Linked DNA regions of Homo sapiens: all the other regions are linked to region 3. Evidence: promoter capture Hi-C in 16 types of primary human blood cells and fetal thymus (Javierre and others, 2016). All regions are on one chromosome and are shown on one strand. Each heading gives the region's core, a stretch centred on a gene start or on the middle of the fragment in contact. The rest is flanking DNA. Distances are from core to core; before and after follow the strand shown.

Region 1 (3,020 bases), core at 464-2,963, 310 kb after region 3:
AATATGAAGCTGCTATTCATTAGATACTTTACATTATTTGTTGTACTAAGTCTTTGAAATCTGATGTATAGTTTATGCTATAGTACATCTCAATTTGGATGTTAAATTTTCATTGGAAATACTTGATCTGAATTTAGAATTTATAATATTTATAGTTAAGAAAGTAGGTTCATATGTGTAAGTTGTTCCACATGCACTGAAGTTTTCTGATGATTGAATCAAGTATCAGTTTGTAAGTTTAAATTAATTCAAATTAAATAAAGTTTAAAATTCAGTTTCAATCACCCTAGCCTCATTAAGTATCCAATAGCCAGGTGGCTAGGGGCTACCTATTAGAGAACATCTTTCTTCTACCTGAATTACAATTCCCTTTTTTCTGGTTCAGTGGAGCTTGCGCTTGTGAATTATAGGCAGAAGGGGCAGGTATTCTGTACTTTGGGTTTTTTCCTACACTGCTTTCATAGAGATAAGCAGCAGTCCATTAGTCGGTTGGTGAAATTATATACCCAATCAATCTATATACCAGTTGACAGAGTACCAGGCTCTATCTGAGACTGAACTTGGATTCTTAAGCTCTGGAATTGAAAACAATGAGATTTTTAGTGGTTTTCCTGGAAAGGTGATTAAAATTTAGCCAAACTAGGCCAGGCGCGGTGGCTCATGCCTGTAATCCCAGCACTTTGGGAGGCTGAGGCAGGCGGATCACAAGGTCAGGAGATCGAGACCATCCTGGCTAACACGGTGAAACCCTGTCTCTACTAAAAATACAAAAAATAAGCTGGGCATGGTGGCGGGTGCCTGTAGTCCCAGCTACTCGGGAGGCCGAGGCAGGAGAATGGCTTGAACCCAGGAGGCAGAGCTTGCAGTGAGCCAAGATTGCACCACCGCACTCCAGCCTGGGCTGGAGCAAGACTCCGTCTCAAAAAAAAAAAATGTAGCCAAAGTAGACCCAGACTGACTGACTTATATTTGACCTTGTTATCTCAAGTCAGTGGCAGGTTACCTCTATCATATACTAATAGTGACTTACTAAAATTTAGAAACTCTTTAGAATTCTTATAATTGAAGAACAGCTTGTTACAAAGTATTTGTATGGCAGCTAGCCATAAGAAAGTTTCTTTAGCAGTATTTGGATGTGTCAGATCTCATTTCCTTTCTGCAGAGTATTCTCGATATCTTCATGCACACCTTGATACCCCCCTTACGGAATATAACATTGATGTGGATCTGCCTGGAAGCTTTAAGGACCACTGGGCTAAAAATTTGCCTTTCCTCATAGAAGACTACGAAGAGCAGCCAGGGTTGCAACCCCACATAAAGTAAGTGCTTTAAATGAAGATGATTTTTTTTTCCTTTCTCAAAACTGAGCTATAAGCTGGGCATGGTGGCACGCTACTCCCTGCTACTTGGGAGGGTGAGGTAGAATTGCCTGGGGCCAGGAGTTCAATCAAGCATACTATCCTTGTGCCTGTGAATATCCATCCATCGCACTACAGCAACACAGCAAAGACCCCATCTCTAAAAACAAAACAAAACAAAAAACACCTATAGCAAACATCATTTTAACTTATGAAATGGTAGATACATTAACATTACCATTGGGAGTCAAAGCAAAAAGCCCAGAATCAGTGCTTCTCTGTAATACTGAACTACAAGTCCTAGACAGTGCACAGAGAGAAGAAAAAGAAATCAGTGATATGGATTAGAAAGGAAAATAGAAAGCTGTCATTGTTTGCAGATCACATAGTTTTCTACAAAGGAAACCTAGAAGATCTACAAATTATAGGAAATGATGAGAGTTTAGCAAGCTCATTGTTTATAATCAATATACAATAATCAGTTACATTTCTATATATAAGCAACAAAAATATCATTTATAGTAGTAACAAATACTTAGAAGTAAATCTTACAAGATCTGTATAAAATCTGTATGGAGATCACAAAACTTAATTGAAAGTTACTAAGATAAAACAAATAAATGGTGAGAAATACTATGTTCATGGATTGGAAGTTCAGTAACATTAGTAGGCCATTTATCTGCAAATTAATTATATATTTAATAAAATGCCATTCAAAATCCCAAGTTTTTTTGAGGCACTTGTTAAGCAAATGTATTGAAGAACAAAGGACCAAGAGTAATCAAGATACTCCCAAAGAAGAGGATGCTCAGGCTTGAAGGGGAAGCTTCTCATCTTACCAGGTAGCAAAACTTAATATAATAATGAACAGAATGGTATTGCTGCAGGGATAGACAAGTGGACTAAGGAAGAGAATAGATAACTTAGATAAATGGGAAAGGTGTGTTAGAGATCAGAGTGGGACTGGTTAAGATGTGGGAGTGGGCCAATTAAGTTATTTTATGGATAAAATAAAATTGATATTTGTGATGGCATAGTAATCTAATTCCAAATGGATGAAAATCTGAAGTATGAATGGCAAAATATTTTAAACTTTAGGAGGAAATATAAATGAAGATGTTTATGACTTTGGGGTAGACAAGGATTTCATAAGAAGCACAAAGCATAGATCTGAAACAAAAAGGTTGATAAATTGGACTACCTTGAACCTAAGAACTTCCGTTCAACAAATGACACCATAAGGAAAGAAAAATAAGCCCAAATTGGATAAAGATACTTGGAAATTTAATAACTGACCAAGAATTACTGTCCAAATTTATGAAGTATCACTACAAATTAAAAAATAAGAGACAACCAATAGAAAAGTGTGCAAAAGACATGAACAAGTAATTTTACCACAGGGAAAACATGAATGACAAACATGAAGAGATACTTTAGTTCATAAATTAAGGCCTCATGAGATTTTTTTCAGCCACTAGATGAGCAAATGTTACGAAGTCTGATAATAGTAATATTGGTCATAAGGGAGATTATGGAGAACTTTTATACTCCTGGTTAGAGTATAAGTTGCTACAACCACTTTGGAAAGCAGTTTTTCATTATCTAGTAAAGCTGAATATTCTCATACTTGATATAAGATTCTGTTCCTGTGTCTATTCAGAG
Region 2 (3,358 bases), core at 176-2,675, 330 kb after region 3:
CCTTTCACACTTATTTTTGTATTTTCAGAGTTGGCAATATATTATTTTCTGTGGAAACTCAAACCACGGAAGAAAGGACACAATTATATCATGCTGAAATAGATGCACTTTATAAAGATTTGACAGCAAAAGGAAAAGTATTGATTCTTTCATCAGAATTTGGGGTAGGTTTCTCTTTGTTTCCATTTTTCTGCTCTTCCTATGATTCTTTTGTAAATTTTTTGAACCTCTGCCCTTTCACTGAGATTGTACATCTTATGCTTGAAATTGGGTTGAATTGACCTAAAAATATTTCTTATTTCTTATAGGCAAAAATTCTTGTATTTAGTAACTACAGTAATGGGGAGGATAATAAATTAATAATTTAGTACTGCACTATGACATTATCATAAGTTTGGGCTTTGACAAGATATAAAAAAGCTGGTCCATAATGAAAATGACCTGGGCTTCACCTTTTTCTTCCATTTTCTTCCCTTCGTTGCGGTTGTTGCTTATAACCGTATATTTACAAGGAGCTTTTGAATGTAAACTGGATGATGCATTCTGATGAGTTAATGGCAAGGAAAGTATAATGAAGTTGTGTATACTTTGCACTTGGCGGCCCTTTCCTGGTCTGTGGCCTTCTTCTTTGGTTGTCTGCTTGGACTCGAGGTGGAGTCGTTACAGGCAGCAGGGTATGGTGGACATTCTCTCCCCACCACGCCCCTTCTCTGTGTTCTGCAGTGGACGGGTGCCCCTTACCCTTGAAAAGTCACCTTATTTCTCCAACATTTAATCACTGCATCCATATAATTAAACATCTAAGTTTATACACATAATTGAGCATCATCCAAATCTCAATGCGGAGTAGGGGAAGGGGCTTACCCAGATCTTTTGGGGTAAGGTACATGTTGTTTGAGAGAACATATTTGGTGTTAATAAATGCCTTTTAAAATTTTAGTCACAATATATATTTTGACATTTCAAATAACGTTAAAGGAGACTGAGATTTTTATGTTTATCCAAGAGTTGCAGTTTAAGAAACAGCTGGGAAAACATTGCTCTAAATTGAACTAAATTGGAAAAAAATGATACAAAAGGGTATAGAATATTCAAGAATTTGAAAAGTAGATTCTTATGGGGGAGGAAGAAAACAATCCTCTTCTTGATGTAGATTATTCTTGTGTGTTCTGTCACCTAATGAAAAATTAGTTTGTAATCTTTATAGTATTTATGAGTCTGTATCTTTTTTTTCTAGGAGGCTGATGCTGTCTGCAACTTAATCTTATCCTTAGTTTATTACTTTTATAATTTAATGCCACTCTCTCGAGGATCCAGGTAAGTAATATCCTGTCATTAAAATTATTTTAAATTGAGAAATGTGTTCTTTTTTGCTTATCCTTCCTGTTATGGATATAGGTACAGAGTACACAAAGAAATGGTAAGGAGCTCCCTATTTTTTTCCAAAATCTGCACAAAAAAATATTTCCTTAGTCTATCACATCAGCAAAAGAATTATAGAAGACAGTTCTAATATAGTGTGCTTACGTTTAATAGGATAGGGATTCATCCATTCAACACAAGTTCATGGAAAGTTTACTGTGTATCATGTGCCGTGCTCAGTGTGTTTTAATTTTTTGTATCTGCCAGCCTCTTACTGAACCTCTTCCTCCTCCTCTTCCTTTTCCATTTTGGGCTGTCAGGTGACCCATAATCCTCATGTTTTATACTTTTGGGCCAACAGTCACTCTGTACTATTTTTATTATTTTGGATAAATTCTTGCTACTTGTATATCAGGAGTTTTTTAGGTATCATTAAAACAAGAGCTATGACTGTAGAGTTTTCATTTCATTCTCCTTTTCCCAGCACTGTGTGCAGTAAATTATGTAAATGGCCTTTTGCCATTACTGGCACATAGTTGAACTTAAGATGTTTTGGCTAAAAATAATACACTTGAATGTCTTTATCTTTGATTAATGGCTTAGAAAGTAAAACTCCCCTAAGTGTGGTAGTAAATTTGGTTATAGAATTTAAGACTCATTGAAACAAAATAGAAACATAAATGTTGTCTTATCAGCATAATATTGCTAGTTGTGTCCACTGAATAAGGGATGTGAGGCCTGTGCACATCACCGCTTGTGGGCCCCACTGTACTCAACAGCCAGCATCCGTCCTTTGTCCTCACAGCAGCTCTGCTGGCTCACGTGTGACATTGAAGGACGTGCAGCTCTGATTGTCCTCAACTCTGCCTCATCCCTACATCTCTTCAATCCTAAATAGTCTGTTGATTCTGCCTCCCACACTTCTGTTTCTCTCTTCCCTGTACCCGCCACAGCTAGCTTTGCTCCTGCTCCTCTCTGTGCCCTGCGGCTCTCCAGCACCTTCTGAAAACCATGGGTTTAAGCCGAGCTTGGCAGCATACACAGTGCGCAGTGCTAGCCCTGCCCTGCCCTGGTTTGCCTTGGCTGCAGCACCGCTCTCTTCCGTGGCTCTTTTGCTTCCCCTTGGCTTTCCACGTGGGCTCTCTGCCACATCTCCCTGCCTTCTCTGCCCCTTTCATCTTCAGCCCTGGGACCCTGGAGGTTGCAGAGCACATGTCTTTAGCCTCTGAAGTCTTCCCTGCTGGAGAACCCCATGAATCACCTTGACTCACTTTTCTTGGTGTCCACCCATGGCACTTGTTAGCTTTCTCAGGTGCTCGTGCCATCCTTTCCACCTGCTAGGATGCATTATCTCATGGGTGAGAGCTGTCTTTATTTTGAGCCGATTTGTTTTGGGAAAAGCACAACACTGTGGTTACAATAGTGGGTCCCATGGCCTTTTGCCAGCCCCTTCCACCCAAAACCAGTCAGCTCCCTCTCTTCCCTCACCAAGAGCAGAAGCACAACGTCTTACAAATGCCTCCTACCCCAGACCTGCACACTCGCAGCTCTACACTCGTTCTGGAGTGACAGGGCAGCAGACCTTGCCCCACGAGCCTCCGAGCCAGCAGGCAAAGGTACCCCACAATCCCCTGGCCTCTAACAGCCACCTTGGAGCCCTGGCAGTTCACACACATGCCCAAATCTCCAAACCATCTGTCCGTTAGTACATTGTGAGAATGTATTCTGCATTTCTTCTTTGAAGGCCAGCATTTCTAATGCTTAAAAAGTAAGACTAACATATGTATTTGTATTTATGAACTTTATTGTATACATGCATTGCTGGAGTGCGGTGGAGCGATCTCGGCTCACTGCAACCTCTGCCTCCCGGGTTCAAGCAATTTTTCTGCCTCAGTCTCCCAAGTAGCTGGGACTACAGGCACATGCCACCACTCCTGGATAATTTTTTGTATTTTTGTTACAGATGGGGTTTTGCCATGTTGGTCAGGCTGGTCTC
Region 3 (2,915 bases), core at 181-2,680:
TCTTCCCTTCGTGCCTGCTCTGGAGTAGCAGAGTCAGAAAACAAAGTTGATATCCACCACAGAACTGTGGGGAAGATAAGATCAATGAAGAGATATATCTAAATAATAAGGCTTATAGGCAGTTAGCAATCAGAAACCGAAAGGTCTTGATAGAGAGGGAACAGAAGTTTCTCCATGTTCCAAAGAATATTGGTGTCTCAATTTGAAGGAACCCATATATTCTCTTTCAAAACTGGGGTGTTTATCTTGCTCTGCTGTGTTATCCCTGTTTTGACCTTTCTGCACAAATGAACACTACATTTAAGCCAAAATTGGACAGTAATCACCAGGATATGCTAATATGCTTTTAAAATGAATTCTTTCATTTTCTCCTAAAGTAGCTAAAAACTAATTTAGTGGTTAAAAACAACAAGAAACAAACAAAAACCAAACCAGTTGCCCCAGGTCTGTGCAATCCTGAAGGCTATAAAGCTCCCATCTCATAATTTCTTCATGAAAATCGTGGGTGACCAACATCTGCCAGCCAAAAAGACCCGTTAAAACCAAGAGAGGAAGAGGGGGTTGGAGGAAAAAAAGACAAGCGGGAGAGAAGCTGGGTGGCGCTGGCTGTCCTCCAAAATGATTTGTGGAAAAGGTACAATAATGACTGGAAGACAAGAACAGGCAATAAAAATGTCTAGAAGTTCTAAATTTTCCTGAAGTGTTTAAAACTCTATTCCCACATACAAGCCAAGTGCTCTACTCCCAGGAATATAACAGCAGCATAGGGCGGGGTGCGGAGCCACAGGCTATCTCAGGGCGGGTCAAACCCGCAAGTTTCTCAGGTTTGCCCAAAAGGTAGCTCGACATGCCCTCGCTAGAGATGGGGAGACTCCAATTCTCATTCCTCATTCTCGTGTCCAGGAGCTTTCTGAAGGCCCCAGGGCCTGATAGAAAGAAAGAGAAGGAAAAAGTGGAAAGGAACCAAAGGAACCATAATCCGTAGAAACTTCCAAAAGCATGCACACACAGACACACAGCGATACACTGTTGTCCTGGAAACCAATCCAACCAACTAACCCCTCCTCGGGAGCCTAGGGGCCAGCTCTTTTGGGCAAGGGTGGTGGGCCGGAGGAATAGGGACTGGGAGAAAGGGGTACTATTTCGCGCGGCTCCGCTCTGGGCCTCTTTTCCCTGGGCGCCTACCGAGTAGAGGAGCACGACAGCGCTGGGACTGGTTGGGCCAACGGAGAAATAAGAGTTAGATGAACTGGAAGACTCCATGGTGCGGCTGCCTTCCCGGGCGGGGTCTGGGATTCTTTGCTAAGCCGTGGTGGTGCTCCTGCTGGGGGCGGTTCTTTCGCTCAGGACGGCCCTACTTCGCCTAGGGCGGCGGCACCCTCTGCAGCCGCTACACAGGATCCCGGGCGCCGCCATCTCAGCCAGGACGGAAGCCGCGCAGGGCCCTGCAGCGCATGCGCGCAGTCGCGGAACCCGGAAGCGGGGGTGCAGCGCGGCAGAATGAGGGTTGATTCCTCGGCTGACCCCACAATGTCGCAGGAGCAAGGGCCGGGGTCCTCCACGCCTCCCAGTTCTCCGACACTTCTTGACGCTCTGCTCCAGAACCTTTACGACTTTGGTGAGTGCGGGGTCCCAGGAGCCCACGTGGAGAACAGATTTGAGGAACGTGGGTCTCCTGTGTTGCCCGTCCTGGGTTGGCCTCTGCTTTGAGGCTAAAGGTTCTTGCATGTCAAGCACCCTTCGTCCCACCTGGTTCCAGTAGCGAACACATTTCTCCATCGGAAGTCACCCCTCGACCGGGCTCTGCTGAGTTATTCATCAAACCTTCCAACTCGTCCCCAAGTGTGGGGACCATCCTACTTGCTTGTAGGAAGCACCAAGGCTTTCCGATTTAAAAGTAGCCCGCTTTTCCACGTTTTCTTGAGCCCTGGGAAGTCCCCTTTCCCCATGCCACCCCCAAGACCTGCCTGACCCTGGTGCGATGGTGTCATTTCGCTCTGGGGCCTCGGGCCTGTTGGATAATACACCAGCTTCATCCTTGTGTGTCCCTCTCCAGAGACATCATAGTCCTTGGCGAGTTGTCCTTTTCACGACTTTTTTTTTTTTAAACAAGTGCGCTGATCTTTTACTCTCCGTTCTTTGTCTTGATGGGGGAAAAGGAAAATAAAAGAGCCTATTAAAGTCGCATGGCATGTCAGTAGGAAGACAGTGCCTCATACTCTGAAGAGCTTTCCCGGGAGAAGGTGACACCCTTTGCACATGCACCAAAGAAAATCATTAGATTTCAGGACAACACACATTTCTTAAATTTACAGCGTGATATTTTAAAAGCTATTTTTATTTTGGAATGACTGCTCAAAATTCTAAGTTCACCTAAACAGTAGGAATAATAGTTAAAACTGTTGAGAACTTGCCATATAGCACATGCTTTTCGTGTATTTGCTCATTTAATTTTCAACTTCATGAAATAGACACTGTCATAAATCCATGATTGCAGATGTAGAAACAAGTACTAGAAGTTCATGAAACCTGATGCAGGTTGTCTGACTGGTAATTTTTGCAGAGCCTGGGTTCTGATTCTAGCCCCAGACCCCATGCTTGTATTAACTAGCATTTCTGTGCCCTTGGACATATTGGAGGACAGAGAAGACTTAGTCTCTGACCTTGAGAAGTTTAAAATCTAGAGGAAAAGACTATTCTGCAAAATAATATAGTTCATGTCAACACAGGCTGGAAATCATGGTAGGAGCTCTGAAGGCATTGAATGTGTCTATTCATTTTTATATCCTTAATGCCAAAGTTTAGTTGGCTCTTAAATGTTTATTGTATAAAAGATTAAGCAAATAGTAGCAAGCATAAATCAGCAGCTGGTAATTTAGAGAGCTCTGTGGTATTTGTAATACATGTGAGTAAGG
Region 4 (3,097 bases), core at 115-2,614, 290 kb after region 3:
AACATTCCTCTGCATAGAATTTTAAATAACATCCTTTATGTAAATATGTGTGTTCGTCACTTAGGTGAAATCTAATCCTCATTACATTGCTTATCTACTGACTGTTTCGACTTGTTTGTTTTTAGATCCAGTGACTTCCCAGTTTTAATAAAAAAGCCAGCCTTGTAGTGGTAAATACAGTAAATACTGTAAAATTTAAAGTCACTATATAAGTAATGAAATGAGGATAATATATTAGACTCTTTTTTTTTTGCGAATTGAGACATCTAAGTAGACACAACACCATTTAGGCAACTGTTATACCATGATTTTGCAGTTGCATAAAGTAAAATTGGAAGATTGAAGTATTCATTTTCATTTCAGTCTTTTTAAGAGTATAGAAACTTTTTAAAGAAACTTTTTAAAAAGTTTCTGAAAACTTTATAAAGTATAAATATTATAAAAATATTTTGAAAAATTGCTCTTCAGAGCCTAATTTGTTTTTAGGAATAAACGTTGGTTTTTATTTGGAAAAACCCAATAATTTACTATGGCATTCCATAAAGAAAAGTTTTTGGCTTTTAGCTAATGATAGATAAAATAATAAATAAAGTTGTATCAACTTTTAAAAGTAATAAAATCTGTTATTTAAATTTAGGAAGGCTTAATACTAGACTGTAGATATAACAGCCACAATAATTATATGTCCTTCTTGACTGTTAGGAAAAAATTCTAAAAAGAAAGAATAAATTGGGCCGGGCGTGGTGGCTCAGGCCTGTAATCCCAGCACTTTGGGAGGCCAAGGCGGGCGGATCACGAGGTCAGGAGATTGAGACTATCCTGGCTAACATGGTGAAACCCCGTCTCTACTAAAAATACAAAAACAAAATTAGCTGGGCATGGTGGCTGGCGCCTGTAGTCCCAGCTACTCAGGAGGCTGAGGCGGGAGAATGGCGTGAACCCTGGAGGTGGAACTTGCAGTGAGCCAAGATCGCGCCACTGCAGTCCAGCCTGGGCGACAGCGAGACTTCGTCTCAAAAATAAAAAATAAAAAAAAAAGGAAAGAATAAATTGAATAGAGAAAACCTAAATACTTTACAGATAAGCACAGTAATCAATTCAGTGCTGTAGTAATGATGAGACCATGGGGTGACTTGAGGGGAGGCCCGTGCGAGGGCCTCTGTGTGGGGCACACATCCAATCCTGCAGTCAAGATGATGATGGCTACCTTTAGGAAGTTGTCAGTGTTCGGATATTTCAGCTGTTGCAAATTTTTGAATGGCTGTTTTTTTTTTTTAATTTAAAATTTTTATTACTATAAAAATGTTCCAGCTGCAAGAGCTGGAGGGCCACCATACGTCATTCACTGTGGCACATCTGTCATAGAGCTTTGCCTTCCTGTTACCCTGGATCGGGCTCTTGTTTTCCATTGACCTGCACCCCACTATTATTAGCCATGTTGTCCTGCTTGCTTCCCTTTGGGAAGAATAGGCTTAGCAGAGCTGACTTTGATCTGATAGGCAAATCTTTGTCTTCTGTGTTGGTTTTTGCTTGCTATTCCTAGTATGTGGCAAGAATAGCATGACTTTGCATGGTATTCCTAGCACATGGAACCTGAGATAGCTAACAGTAGGCCCTGAGTAAATAATTGTGGAATGAATGGCTGACATCCATACAGTGAACAGTGGGAATAAAGGAGAAGGAGCATATTTATTTTCCAGGGGCGTCTGGAAGGAATCCAAAGGTGGTGTTTGAACTGAGACTTAAGGGATCAAAGGAATTTCTTGGGGACCGAGGCAATGGGTGAGTGTTTCAGACAGAGGGGATAGCATTTGCAAATGCACTGCATTTGGGAAAGCATCTTGTATGTAGGGAATTATTAAATGATTCTGATTTCTAGGGTATGAAGTGAAGCTGGGTGTGGTGGCTCACGCCTGTAACCCCAGCACTTTGGGAGGTTGAAGCAGGAGGATTGCTTGAACCCAGGAGCTTGAGACCAGCCTGGGCAATAAAGTGAGACCCCCATCTCAACAAAAAAATTTTAAAATTAGCCTGGTGTGATCGTGCACTCCTATAGCCTCAGGTACTTGAAAGGCTGAGGTGGGAGTTTGAGCCCAGGAGTTTGAGGCTGTAGTGAGCTAGGCTTGCACCACTGTACTCTAGCATGGGTGACAGAGTGAGACCCTGTCTTTATGAAAAGAAAAAAAAAAAAGAGGAAGGAGATGAGGCTGAACAGTAAGCAGGAAAATGATTAATATTTTCTGCAGAGCCATTTAGATGTTACCTTTTTTTTTTTTTTTTGTATTGTGAGTTGCTACCCTTTAGTGGGTCCTGAAATTAATTGGCAAGTCAAGATTAGCACTTTTTTTTTTAAGTGAAATATGCTGGACTAGAAAATATCAGATTCCATTGTGTATAGGAAGTCCTAGGTATAACCTACTGAAACTGTTTTCTGATACATGTGTGTATATATTGTGCACATGTGTATGTGTGTACTGGATTGTAATGTAAAATGTATTTCAGTGATTTGGAGTTTAAAAAGTTTGAATGTCACTGTATTAGGTGTTGGGGAGTCACTGAATAATTTCAGTTAGGGAAATGATATGATGAGACTTTAGTGTTAGAAAGATAACTCTTGGTGTATATCTGGAGAATAGATAGGAAGAAATGGGAACAGGTAAGGTGATCACAGTATCCTAGGTGAGAGAGGAAGGCTTAGAATAGGGCAGTGGCTGATGGAGTGGGTGGGAGGATGCTGATCTGTTCAGGAGGTGAGATGGCCAGGATTTGGTGAGGGGTGTGTGACCTGGAGAGCAGGAGGATGCCAGAGCACCAGCCCCGGCCACGGGTGTGCGGGGATGCCAGTTGTATTTGTAGAATAACTGCTTATTTACATCTTTTTCTGATTCACCTCTTGGTCATCTGGAGTAAACTTTTTTCTGTTAGGAGAAAAGCAGCTTGGATAATATATTTTGAACCATAACAAATCTGAGCATAGGTTTGGTTCTTCCTGGAGATGTATGTTATCCTAAAGCAAGCTTGTCCAACCCATGGGCCACATGCAGCCCAGGATGGCTTTGAATGTGGCTCAACACAGCTTTGTAAAGTTTCTTAAAAC

What was found. Contacts are between HindIII fragments. The CHiCAGO score rates a contact against its expected background, and 5 or more counts as called.
Region 1: a fragment that was not itself captured here is called in contact with the fragment with the promoter of GNPAT in region 3 in 6 of 17 cell types (M1 macrophages, naive CD4 T cells, non-activated CD4 T cells and 3 more); the score reaches 6.5 in M1 macrophages.
Region 2: a contact is called between a fragment that was not itself captured here and the fragment with the promoter of GNPAT in region 3, in 12 of 17 cell types (naive CD8 T cells, naive CD4 T cells, neutrophils and 9 more). The highest score is 11.4, in naive CD8 T cells.
Region 4: a fragment that was not itself captured here is called in contact with the fragment with the promoter of GNPAT in region 3 in 3 of 17 cell types (total B cells, activated CD4 T cells and M2 macrophages); the score reaches 5.5 in total B cells.

What each region holds. Positions count from the first base shown.
Region 1 is chr1:230,927,236-230,930,255 of GRCh38, reverse strand. It overlaps TTC13 (tetratricopeptide repeat domain 13), which reads left to right. Exons shown (of 23, transcript NM_024525.5): 12 at 1,163-1,319. Among named protein-coding and RNA genes, the nearest start is that of TTC13, 50 kb to the left of the region's middle. The HindIII fragment of the contact is 946 bases long and covers 1,241-2,186 here.
Region 2 is chr1:230,909,429-230,912,786 of GRCh38, reverse strand. It overlaps TTC13 (tetratricopeptide repeat domain 13), which reads left to right. Exons shown (of 23, transcript NM_024525.5): 19 at 29-164; 20 at 1,238-1,317. Among named protein-coding and RNA genes, the nearest start is that of C1orf198, 43 kb to the right of the region's middle. The HindIII fragment of the contact is 7,430 bases long and covers 1-3,358 here.
Region 3 is chr1:231,239,727-231,242,641 of GRCh38, reverse strand. It overlaps GNPAT (glyceronephosphate O-acyltransferase), which reads right to left and starts at 1,430. Exons shown (of 16, transcript NM_014236.4): 1 at 1,186-1,430. The coding sequence starts at 1,263. It overlaps FSAF1 (40S small subunit processome assembly factor 1), which reads left to right and starts at 1,467. Exons shown (of 7, transcript NM_152379.4): 1 at 1,467-1,618. The coding sequence starts at 1,501. RefSeq lists enhancers at 528-1,417, 1,398-1,737. The HindIII fragment of the contact is 8,993 bases long and covers 1-2,915 here.
Region 4 is chr1:230,947,584-230,950,680 of GRCh38, reverse strand. All of the region lies in intron 4 of TTC13 (tetratricopeptide repeat domain 13), which reads left to right. Among named protein-coding and RNA genes, the nearest start is that of TTC13, 30 kb to the left of the region's middle. The HindIII fragment of the contact is 3,311 bases long and covers 1-3,019 here.